Linked DNA regions of Homo sapiens: regions 1 and 2 are each linked to region 3. Evidence: promoter capture Hi-C in 16 types of primary human blood cells and fetal thymus (Javierre and others, 2016). All regions are on one chromosome and are shown on one strand. The core of a region is centred on a gene start or on the middle of the fragment in contact, and the rest is flanking DNA. Distances in the headings are between cores, read along the strand shown. Region 1 holds the start of LOC101928372 (a long non-coding RNA gene). Region 2 overlaps CD244 (CD244 molecule). Region 3 holds the start of ITLN1 (intelectin 1).

Region 1 (2,759 bases), core at 240-2,739, 46 kb after region 3:
CTGGCTGCAAGTCTCCTCATTGGTCTCTCTGCTTCTGCTCTTGGCAGTCTTCAGTATATCCTCAACACAGCCAAAGTCATCCTGTTAAATCAGGCTACCCTCCTACTCAGACCTCTCTGAAGGCTTCTAGTCTTGCCCAGAAGGCCCACAATATCCTACACAATCTGCTCCCATCTTACCTTTGTGCTGTCATGACCTGCTGCTTTCCTCCATACTTATGCAGCTTCTGCTAGCCAAATCTCCCTGCAGCTCCCTGAACGCAGTGAAGATACTCCCATCTCAATACCTTGGCAGTTGCTATTCCCTCTGCCTGGTACTTTATGGCTCAATCCCTCACCTTCTTCAGATCCTTCCTCAATGTCACCTTCTCACTGAAGTCTTCTTTAAAGATCTATTAAAGTTGTAAACCACCACCACCCCCAATATATCTATGTCGCTACTCAACTTTCTTTTTCTCCATAGCACTTTTCAAACTTAACATTCTAGTCTGGGTGTGGTGGCTCATGCCTGTAATCCCAGCACTTTGGGAGGCTGAAGCGGGGGGATCATTTGAGCCCAGGAGTTCAAGAACAGCTGGGCAACATAAGGAGACCTGGTTTAAAAAAATAAAAATAAATAAATAAATAAAAACTTGACATTCTATTATTTATTTTTATAGCATATTGTATATTTCCTGGTACTAGGGTACAATCTCCAGAAAGGCAGAAATGTGTACCTGACTTGTTGCTATATCCCCAGCATCTAGAATATGTTCTGGCACATAATAGGCTCGCAATTAATGCTTTTAAAAGAAATAAACACACAAATTTGTGATTAGAAAACATTCATGAAGCCTGCTGTTAGTTCTAGAGCAGCCACTAAAAGGATAGAAAAAAAGCTTACAATTTTAAAACTAGTAGAGAGAAAAAAACAATGACACAATTGTGTCAGTTTCCTAGGGTTGCCATAACAAATTGTCACAACCTAGGTGGCTTTTTAAGAAATTACTCTATTTCAGAGGTGAGAAGTCCAAAATTAAGGCATCAGCAGGACTGTGCTCTGTCCAAAGACTCTGCAGGAGGATCTTCTCTTGCCTCATCCAGCTTCAGGTAGAAAGCAATCCTTGGGTTTTTTGTTTGTTTGCTTTTGGTTTTGATAGAAATGGAGTTTCACTGTATTTTTTGCCCAGGCTGGTCTCAAACTCCTGGGCTCAAGCAATCATCCCACCTCAGCCTCCCAAAGTACTGGGATTACAGGTATGAGGCACCATGCCTGGCCAATCCTTGGTATTTATTGATTTGTGGCCACATAACTCCCTTCTCTGCCTCCGTCTTCATACAGCTGCCTTCCATCTGTGTGTGTTTCTGCATCTGTGTCTCTTCTCTTCTTATAAGGATATTAGTTATATTGGAATTAGGGCCCACCCTAATCCACTATAACTGCATTTTAAATAGTTGCATCTGCAAAAATCTCATTTCCAAATAAGGTCACATTCACAGGTACCTTGGATTAGGACTTTAACATACCACTTTAGGGAACACAGTTCAACTCACAATAGCAATCATCAGTCTTGGTCTTGAATTATGTCTATATTCATACAGAATGCTCAGCAATGCTATGATCTGAACATTTATGTCCTCTCAAATTCATATGTAGGTTTGTTAATATCCTGTTTAGAATTGTTGCATATACAGTCATGAGGGTGGTTGGCTTATAATTATCTTTTCTTGTGATACTCTTGTGAGATTTTCATATCAAGGTTATGCTGGATACATTGTTAGAGGAGCAGCCCACAAGACCACCCTCACTTCTGACACCGATTGCAAGGTTGGGGTCCCCCAATATCCTCCTCCTCTCTGACATTAATTGTCAGCTTGGGGGGACCCCAAGACCACCCGTGAGTTTAATAATTCACAAGACAAACTCACAGTGCTCATGGAAAGTTACGGTTTATTGCAGCTAAGAATACAGGTTAAAATCAGCCAAGGGAAGGGGTACATAGGGCAGAGTTCAGGAAAGCTCTAAACACAGAACTCCCAGTTGTCCTTTCCATGAGTTGTGGACAGTGTTAATTTCCTGACATCCAGTGTGTGATAATACTCGCAGAATATTGTCAACCAGGGAAGCTTACTCAGGCCAGTTTATTAGGCTCAATCACATAAATCTGGTCAGCTGCCCTCAGTCTCCTAGCCCTTGCAAAGTTTGAGCTGATACCACTGTTCTGGTGTGGGGTTTTCATGAGGTTGCAGTCACATGGTGGCTGGGGTTGGGATAATCTTTAAGACTCTTTCTCTAACATGTCCGATCCCTGGGTGGGCAGACTGAAACAGCTACAGAAAGAAGCATATATGGCTTCTTGGGCATCTTTCTACTTCTATATGATCTTTTCACATGGTCTCTCCAGCATAGCAGCTTCAGGATAGTGGACTTCTCACTTAATAAATCAGGATCCGAAGGCACAAGTCCTAAGAAAGAGAAAGCCAGGAAGAAGCTGTATCATTTTTTAGGATGCAGTCTCAGAGGTCACACTTCTGCCATATTCTTTTCATGAAAACTTAGTCACTAAGCCCGCCCAAATTTGGTGGGGTGGGGGGAATTACCAAAGAATTGGCAGGCTATATGCAGAATATGCCATATCAGTGAATTTTCTATGTCAGAATGATCTTTCCAAGGTGAAAAACAATACTGGGTCAGGGTTGGTCTCTGGATTTTGAAAGCAACACATATAACATGTGAGCCTGCTGCTTTCATCTAGGCCAATTTTAAGTGGGGCACAAAGC
Region 2 (4,082 bases), core at 645-3,144, 53 kb before region 3:
GAGAATAAAAATGCAGGGTATGGAGAGGATACATAAATTTAATTCAGGCAAGGAATTCAGACTGCATCTGCATGATATCACCGTTTTATATGAAACTCCTATGTTAGATACAGGGTAGGAAAATTGAAGAACCAGGCTTTGTGCAGTATCACCTGTTGGGGTCTCTGAGTAAGTCCTCTCCCAGTTCACCCTTGTCGCTTTCCTGGGCTCAGCCAGAGTCACAGCCCTGCTCCCCACAGCCTTGTTGAAATGTCTGGCCTGACGACTCAGGGAACCCAGCATAGTGTCTAGATTCCAACTGCCTCATTCTCAGCCCTCAGCTGCCTGAGCCCTCCCTTCAATGTGCATCCTGGGGAACACTCATCAGGACTCAGAACTTAAATAGAACATGGTTTCTGAGAGGCCTCTTCCTCTGGGAAGCCACTTCTATGAAGAAGCCAAATGGATTTCTAACAATGCGTCTTCATAAATCAAACATCATACCATGGACAAAGCTGGTCTCAACACCCCAGTTATCAGGTCAGCATGTGCTCTGGGTGATTTTTCTACTTAGAGATGGGCTTGCTTTGCACCATCTACTCTCCCTTCAGCCCACTCCCCCTGGTGGCCAACTGGCCAGAGGTAAAGGTATGAGATGCAGGGAGAAAGTTTTTTCTCTGCAATTGAGTAAAGCCCAGGCCCTGGCCCCCACCCACGTGCAGAACCTGCCAGCCAGTTCACAGCCGGACAGTCCAGGCTTTCAGAGGAGGGCTGTTTCTTCTTCCCCTGAGTCACCATTATCATTCCTTCCTCTTGCTTTGGAAGATGGGCCTGGGCCGGCGAGAGTCTAGAAATGCAGTCAACCCAGAGAGGGGAGAAAAGGAAACAAGTGACAGCTTGAAAATCAGGTGGAGGGAATCTCGATGCTAATAACATCACTTACATAACACTTTCTAGATTACAAATACTTGGAATGTGGCCTTTTGTGAACAACCTAACCCCTCCACCCATTCATGTCTGATCTGTAAATTGGAAGATATTATTTAACAGCCTTGCTCTTATCATGGTTGTTAGACATCATTTTCAAAACAAAATATAGAACAAGAACAAATTTCCATATCCTCTCCAGACTAGGAACTGTTCTATAGAGACTCCTGTGCCGTCATCCACTGTGCCAATTCCCAAAGCAGATGCTGATGTGCAAGAAAGGTGAGAATTGCTGCAGCAACTAGGAATAAACATCAAAGTTCTCCAGCTCTTTGCGGCTCAATCGAGCAGGGTTCTGGGCTTTAGGTTGACTCTTTCCAATCTGCAAAAGAAAAGGAGAAACTTCAGACCCTTGCACTGGGAGGTCCTTATCACAATCCTGTGAGGTATGACTTGCCATCCCCATTTTACAGATTTAAAAAATGAAGCTCAGAGTGACAAAACAAATTACTCAGGATCCACGACTAGTGTGAAGTGCAGGAGGGACTTGAATCTAGTTCTTCTGGCTCCAATTCCAGTACTCTCTTAACCACATATGCTTTTTCATGACCTCACAAGCTACCTGGGTCTACACAGTGCCCTCTATGACCCTGGGTTGTCCAGTTGGCTTTAATGTTGGGTGATAGCTGAAGTGCCAGGAATTCCAGCAGGCAGCCACCCATCCCTCCCTTCTGACCAATGGCAGCATCTTTATTGGACCACAGGTGGGGAGGCTCAGGTGTAGTATGAGGCTAATGGGTAGTGGGGGAGGTTGGGGGATGCTCTCCATGCCTTAATTTCTCTGAGTATAAATGGAAAGTATAATTATACCTATCTTGTAGCATTCTGTGAGGACTAAATAAAATAATCCATGTGAAGACACTGGCAGGCTACCTTATCCATAATAAACCCCCAAGAAATGTTGAGTCCCTCCTTTCCAGTCCCTAAATGCTCTGATGGGAATCAATTCAACCACCAGGCTCAGTGGTCATCTCTGAACAGTGTTGACCCCTGAAGAAGATTAAGCTCACCTATGTCCTGGAATGGCTCCCAAAGACTTGCTAATTTTAGAAAATCATTTAGAGTCCTTTATCTTCCCCTCTCTGACCCCTCCTCCGAACACTCTTGGAAAGGAGAGATGTCCAGTTTGTGGCCCACAGCCTGGGAACTAGCTCGGGGACGGCCCTAATTTAAAACCCAAGCTGCCCAGTAAGTATCATATCTAAACACGCAATATGATCTTGGGTCAGACCCTCACTCTCCTTGGGCTTCAGTGTCTTCATCTCTAAAACAAAGACTTGCATTAGAAGATCTCTAAATTCCCTACAACTCTGAGACTGTGTGAATGATCTTTTCCTAAGTGTACCCTTTCATGGCTAGATTTCAGGGCTATGCAACAGACAGTAAACCCATTGAGGAGTTCCAGAATCTTACCACTTCATAGATAGTGCTATTGAAGGAAGGGCTGTGGTTCCTCTTCCTGGATCCAGACTAGAAATTCAGAAGGTAAAGAATACTTAACTTCGAGATAAGTGCTCTCCCACTCCTAAGTGATGTGAGAGGTCCCAAAAGAGACTCAGGGCCCAGAAAAATTCTGAGGCACTCTCAGCCAGAAAATGAATAGAATCTGTCACCCTAGGAGCAAAACAATGGTGTTTATGGTCTCCAGGGAAGACACAATATATACAGTATTTGCCTATAATATGATATTTCTGAACCAAAATCAGAATTTGCTGTTCCATACCCACATACACCTAAAACCCATACACATATGTGTGTGTGTGTGTATATATATATATATATACACACACACATATATATACATATTTGTGTATATATATACACACACACATTCCCAGAGCACACACACATACACATACACATACACATACACATACACACATATCCCTCAGGCAATCCTAATGCAAATACTGCCCCAAACCATGTATCTCTTCAACGCATGCATACACACACCCTTAATGTAAACAATCCAGGCATATAAATAATTGCCAACCCAAGGACACTAGAATTCAGAGGCACATTCAGTAGCATATAGAGTTTACATACACCAAAGCAGGTGAACATGGTGCCTGTGAACATCTATATGGCCTTATATTGTAGCATATAATTAAAAACAAATCTCTCTCACGATGGGATCCAAGTAGGTTGAATGGCTTATTGGAAGGAGGTTGAATGAAAAGTCTGAAAATCTGTCCTAAACCCCTTCAAACCTGTGGTCCCTGACCTGCATGGACTTCCACAGTTGTGTGGACTCCCAAATTCCCATACTACCATGTTAAGGCTTTCTGGCTTCACACTGTGGCTCCAGCCTTGGGAACACCACTCTTCCCATCCCCTTCCATACAAGAGAAAAACAATGACCATGTGTACCAGGATACCCAACTCTGTTTCCAAGTACACAAGAGAGCTACGAACTCAGCTTGGAGAAGGATTTCAGTGCAAAAGGATGGGTTGCCTCAGTCCAGAGGCCTCCACCAGCAGGTGACTGACTGGCCAGGACCTTTCTCTGGTCTCTGAAGGTCAAGATTGTGTCTCTCTAGATCCAGTCTACTCCTCCAGCTCCAGGCAATATGCCCTGCCTTGCAAACCCCTCCAGTATCTCTCACCATAGCCTCAGCTGACCTACTAAGTACCCCGTAGTCTCTCTGTGCAAAGCACCTCCTTTCTGTCTCTGACTGTCCTTTACCTCCCACAGAAACTCCCAAAAACTCATCTAGTCTACTGTTCTCTTAGTCTAGAAGCTGTTATTTTTCTCCAGACAGAACCAGTAAGGCATTTCTCATTGGCCCATTGACATTTAAATACAGTCATTTAACAGAAGCTACTCAGATACACACAATAAAGAACAACTTGCCAGGATGTGCACACACACTCTCACTGCAAACACATGCAAAATACACATCTACATCAACAACACCCCACCACCACCACGGGAAGAGGCTCACCTTCCTGGAAGGCTGAATTAATGAATATAATGTATATGCAGGTTCTTGTGACGTGGGAGCAGAAGACTAATGAGAAGAGAAATAAAATCATTTCAGAAGCACAGATCCAGCACAATCTTACAAAGGTTATCTCTTCCGTTTCTCCTCCTCAACCCTGCCCAGATGGAAGCT
Region 3 (3,621 bases), core at 73-2,572:
GGAATTGCTAACAAGTCAACAGAAAATTGTATTGACAAGAATAAATGGTAGAAGAAAGGCAAACTCAAGAGAACAAAAGAAAGACTCTGAGGTAACAGTGGAGAATGGAAACGCCAGACAGTAAGCGGGGCAGTTGCCTGGGAGAAGAAGGCAAGACGGGTTGTCTCATGTCTTAGTCACAGAAGACCTTCCAGTCCAGGTGACATCTTAGCTTATTCTGAGAGAATAAACATGATTTATCAGTAGGAAGCCAATCCAAGGCAGGGAAAACAGCATATCCAAAGGCCTAGAGAAAAAAAAAAAAATACAGCGTAGTCCAGCTGTAGAACTACAAGCTGCTTAATATGGCTGAAACATGGGGTGTGAAGTAGGGAGTGGTGAGACTAATCTCTACTCCAAAAAGTCTGCAAACTATTCGAACAGTCTAGGGGAAAGCTGTGAGGTCAGAGGTGACTGACCTCAGTTTCCTCATACCTAAAACACAGTTAATAAACAGTGCTTTTGCAAAGATGAAGTAAGAAGATATTTCGAAACAGCCTTTTCTTTAAAAAAAAAATTTTTAGACGTGAAGAAAAATATAAATTTTAAAATGTCATTGTTATTCTTGTTGTAGAGAGGAAAACTGTGGAGAGAACATTCTCCAGGCACAAAGCAGACCATGTAGTTCCCATGGAAATCCCACAGCCAAGGCCACAGGAGTGGGCAGTGGCTGGAAGGTGACACAGTTCTTGCCACAGCCCCCTCAGGGCCACACAAAAGCACAGAGCCTGGACCCAGGACATGCCTCAAGCAATACCTTCACTGCCACAGGCCAGATTCCGCCAGAGACCAGAAATCGGCACTCAGTCTACATGCAAGCCAGCCGCTGTGCATCTCAAGGACATGCTCTGTGTCCTGGGAGAGACCAGGATCCCGGAAGTCATCCAGCTGAAGGAACTGCTGTCCCTAGCAGCGTGACTCACCTGTACTCCATCCTCTGGTGGTCGCTATGAGAAACAGCAGGAAGCTGAGTTGGTTCATTGTAATCTAAAGAAAGCAAGATGAAGGTCACCATCTTGGCCATCATTTTTCTCTACATCCCTGCCCCACCCCTGTCCAGTCTTACAAAGACTCCAAAACCCCTTGCCTTTTGTTTAAACTTCACACATCTCTGAGACCAAAAGCAGACCTAAGCTGAAAACAGGATTCCCCCAACTCACAGACCTTGTCTGAGTCTCAGCTGCACTTTCCTTGGGTACAGAGAGCTCCTTCACTCCCTCCCTCCACTGCGCCCTGGAGCTCAACAGAGTGCAGCTTTCTCCAAAAACGCTCCTGATGTGGAATGAGGTGCAGAAAGCTTTATGGAGGAAGCCCAGTGGGGCCAACCAAGGTTTCCAGCCTCACCCTCCCCTGGCACAATGCCCAGTGCAGGGGAGGCTTCTGGTTATCTCGGGGAGGTTATTTATACAGTGGAATTAACAGGTTCTAAAGAAAAAACCAATCCTAAGAATCACCTGCTAGCGTTGTTCCTGGATCTGGGGGTTTCATGGACCTGTGTCAAGTAGGAAGTAGACGAAGAGATTAACAAGAGTTGGTGTTGGTTTTGGGTTTTTGTGCCTTTCTTTCTTGCAAAATAAAAACTTTCTCTAAATTAAGCATCTGTTGGCTTGGCACATTGGCTCAAATCCCAATACTTTGGGAGGCCAAGGCAGAAGGATCACTTGAACTCAGGAGTTTGAGACCAGCCTGGGCAACATAGGGCAACCTCTTCTCTACTAAAAATAAAAGTAAAAAAATTAGCATGGCATGGTGGTACTTGCCTATAGTTTCAGGTGGGGCTGAGGCAAGGCAAAAGGGTAACTTAAGTCCCAGAGATAGAGGATTCAGTGAAATATGACCGTGCCACTGTACTTCAGCTTAGGTATCTCAAAATAAATAAATAAATGAAATTAATCATTGGCCATAATTATCAATTCATAGAAATAGAAAAAGGAAATTTTAACAAAATGGGAAAGTGATCATTTCTGAATAAATTGGTAAAAAGGAATGGAGGGGAAAGAGATACAAAACACACAAAAAAATACGAATAGAAAAGTTTTAAAAAATATATAAATCTTTAGTTTGAATAATTTAGTTTCACACAAAGACTCACTACTTTGTCTTTAATTTTGTCATTTTGCCACAAACGAGGGAAAATTTACTACAGGATTCATTTGAAACTGAATCAATACGAAACCTCTCTGCTGCTTCGAACCTCCTGTCTTATTCCTGCTCCTATGTCATGAAGTTCTCAAATGCTACCCTGCAGCTGTAATAGAATTACTCAGTTCTTCCCCAGTGATATCATACATTTAATACATAATGTCATTATAGCATTAATAATACTGCAACCTTTTCTTACAAAGATTGTGAATATCTTTTTTGTTAAGCTAATATTTCCTATTTGTTGGTTCAAAGTACTGATTTGCAAAAAATACTCACATATTGATAGAAGAAAATAAAATAGCACCCAAGAAGAAAAACTGCAAAAAAAAGTTATACTTTTGTAAATTTAAAATCTATTAGAAGCTATTTGCTCTGTGTATCTGGAAAATAATTAATTAAATAAAATTAAATGTATTAGAAACTAAATTAACTCATCAGTATAGGTAACAAAATGAACATACCCAGCTTTCATATTTACAAACAACAACCTCTTAGAAATAGAGGTCTCAGCCAGGCGCTGCGGCTTACACCTGTAATCCCAGCACTTTGAGGGGACGAGGGTGGCCAATCACTTGAGGTCAGGAGTTCAAGACCAGCCTGATCAACACGGTGAAACCGTGTCTCTACTAAAAATATAAAATTAGCTGGGCACGGTGTCAGGCGCCTGTAATCCAAGCTACTCGGGAGGCTGAGGCAGGAGAATTGCTTGAACCCGGGAGGCAGAGGTTGCAGTGAGCTGAGATCGCACCATTGCACTCCAGCCTGGGCAACAAGAGTGAAATTCCATCTCAAAAAAAAAAAAAAAAAATAGAGGTCTCTAAGTTTACAGTTCACAATAGTAAATACATGTATATAAAGTTAACACCAAGGGCCCAAGATCTAGAGAAAAAAATTAAACATCCCCTCAGTTGTTCATTACTGTGTGTAACTAACCACCTGAAAACTTTATGGCTTAATAAAACAGTAACATATTTGCAAAAATAAAAAAAGAAAATATACACTTATACTACTTTCTTTAGTTGATTCTAAGACACTTTTTTTGTATTTTGACATCTTTAATATCATTATGCATCTCATCCTTAATGGTACATGATGCCATCTAATAGACTGGGAAAACAGTACATCCATTTTAAGGACATTACCCCTTCTAACCATCATCATCCAATCAGTGATTGCGTCCCATTGATTCTACCCCTACTTCCTCTTGAATCTGTTCCCCACACAACTTCCTCCAAACCCCACTGCCCTGGACATTTATTTAGTTCAGTCTGGTTCCTTGTAGCTGTAACTAATAGAAACCCCATCTCAAAGTGGCTTTTCTAAAAAGTAAATCTATTACCTCATGAAATAGAAAATCGAGAGAGAGGGCAAGATCCAGGCTTGCTTGACAGCAGCTTCTCTTTATTTTATTTTATTTATTTATTTATGTTGAGACAG

What was found. Contacts are between HindIII fragments. The CHiCAGO score rates a contact against its expected background, and 5 or more counts as called.
Region 1: a contact is called between a fragment that was not itself captured here and the fragment with the promoter of ITLN1 in region 3, in 4 of 17 cell types (megakaryocytes, erythroblasts, M2 macrophages and 1 more). The highest score is 7.0, in megakaryocytes.
Region 2: a contact is called between a fragment that was not itself captured here and the fragment with the promoter of ITLN1 in region 3, in 8 of 17 cell types (total CD8 T cells, naive CD4 T cells, naive CD8 T cells and 5 more). The highest score is 8.8, in total CD8 T cells.

What each region holds. Positions count from the first base shown.
Region 1 is chr1:160,929,734-160,932,492 of GRCh38, forward strand. LOC124904441 (a long non-coding RNA gene) reads right to left here. Exons shown (of 2, transcript XR_007066689.1): 2 at 1,913-2,444. It overlaps LOC101928372 (a long non-coding RNA gene), which reads left to right and starts at 2,732. Exons shown (of 6, transcript NR_110695.1): 1 at 2,732-2,759. The HindIII fragment of the contact is 1,228 bases long and covers 876-2,103 here.
Region 2 is chr1:160,830,140-160,834,221 of GRCh38, forward strand. It overlaps CD244 (CD244 molecule), which reads right to left. Exons shown (of 9, transcript NM_016382.4): 7 at 3,912-3,977; 8 at 2,380-2,436; 9 at 21-1,288. The coding sequence ends at 1,208. Among named protein-coding and RNA genes, the nearest start is that of CD244, 31 kb to the right of the region's middle. The HindIII fragment of the contact is 4,367 bases long and covers 1-4,078 here.
Region 3 is chr1:160,883,858-160,887,478 of GRCh38, forward strand. It overlaps ITLN1 (intelectin 1), which reads right to left and starts at 1,323. Exons shown (of 8, transcript NM_017625.3): 1 at 1,204-1,323; 2 at 963-1,026. The coding sequence starts at 1,020. The HindIII fragment of the contact is 4,692 bases long and covers 1-1,334 here.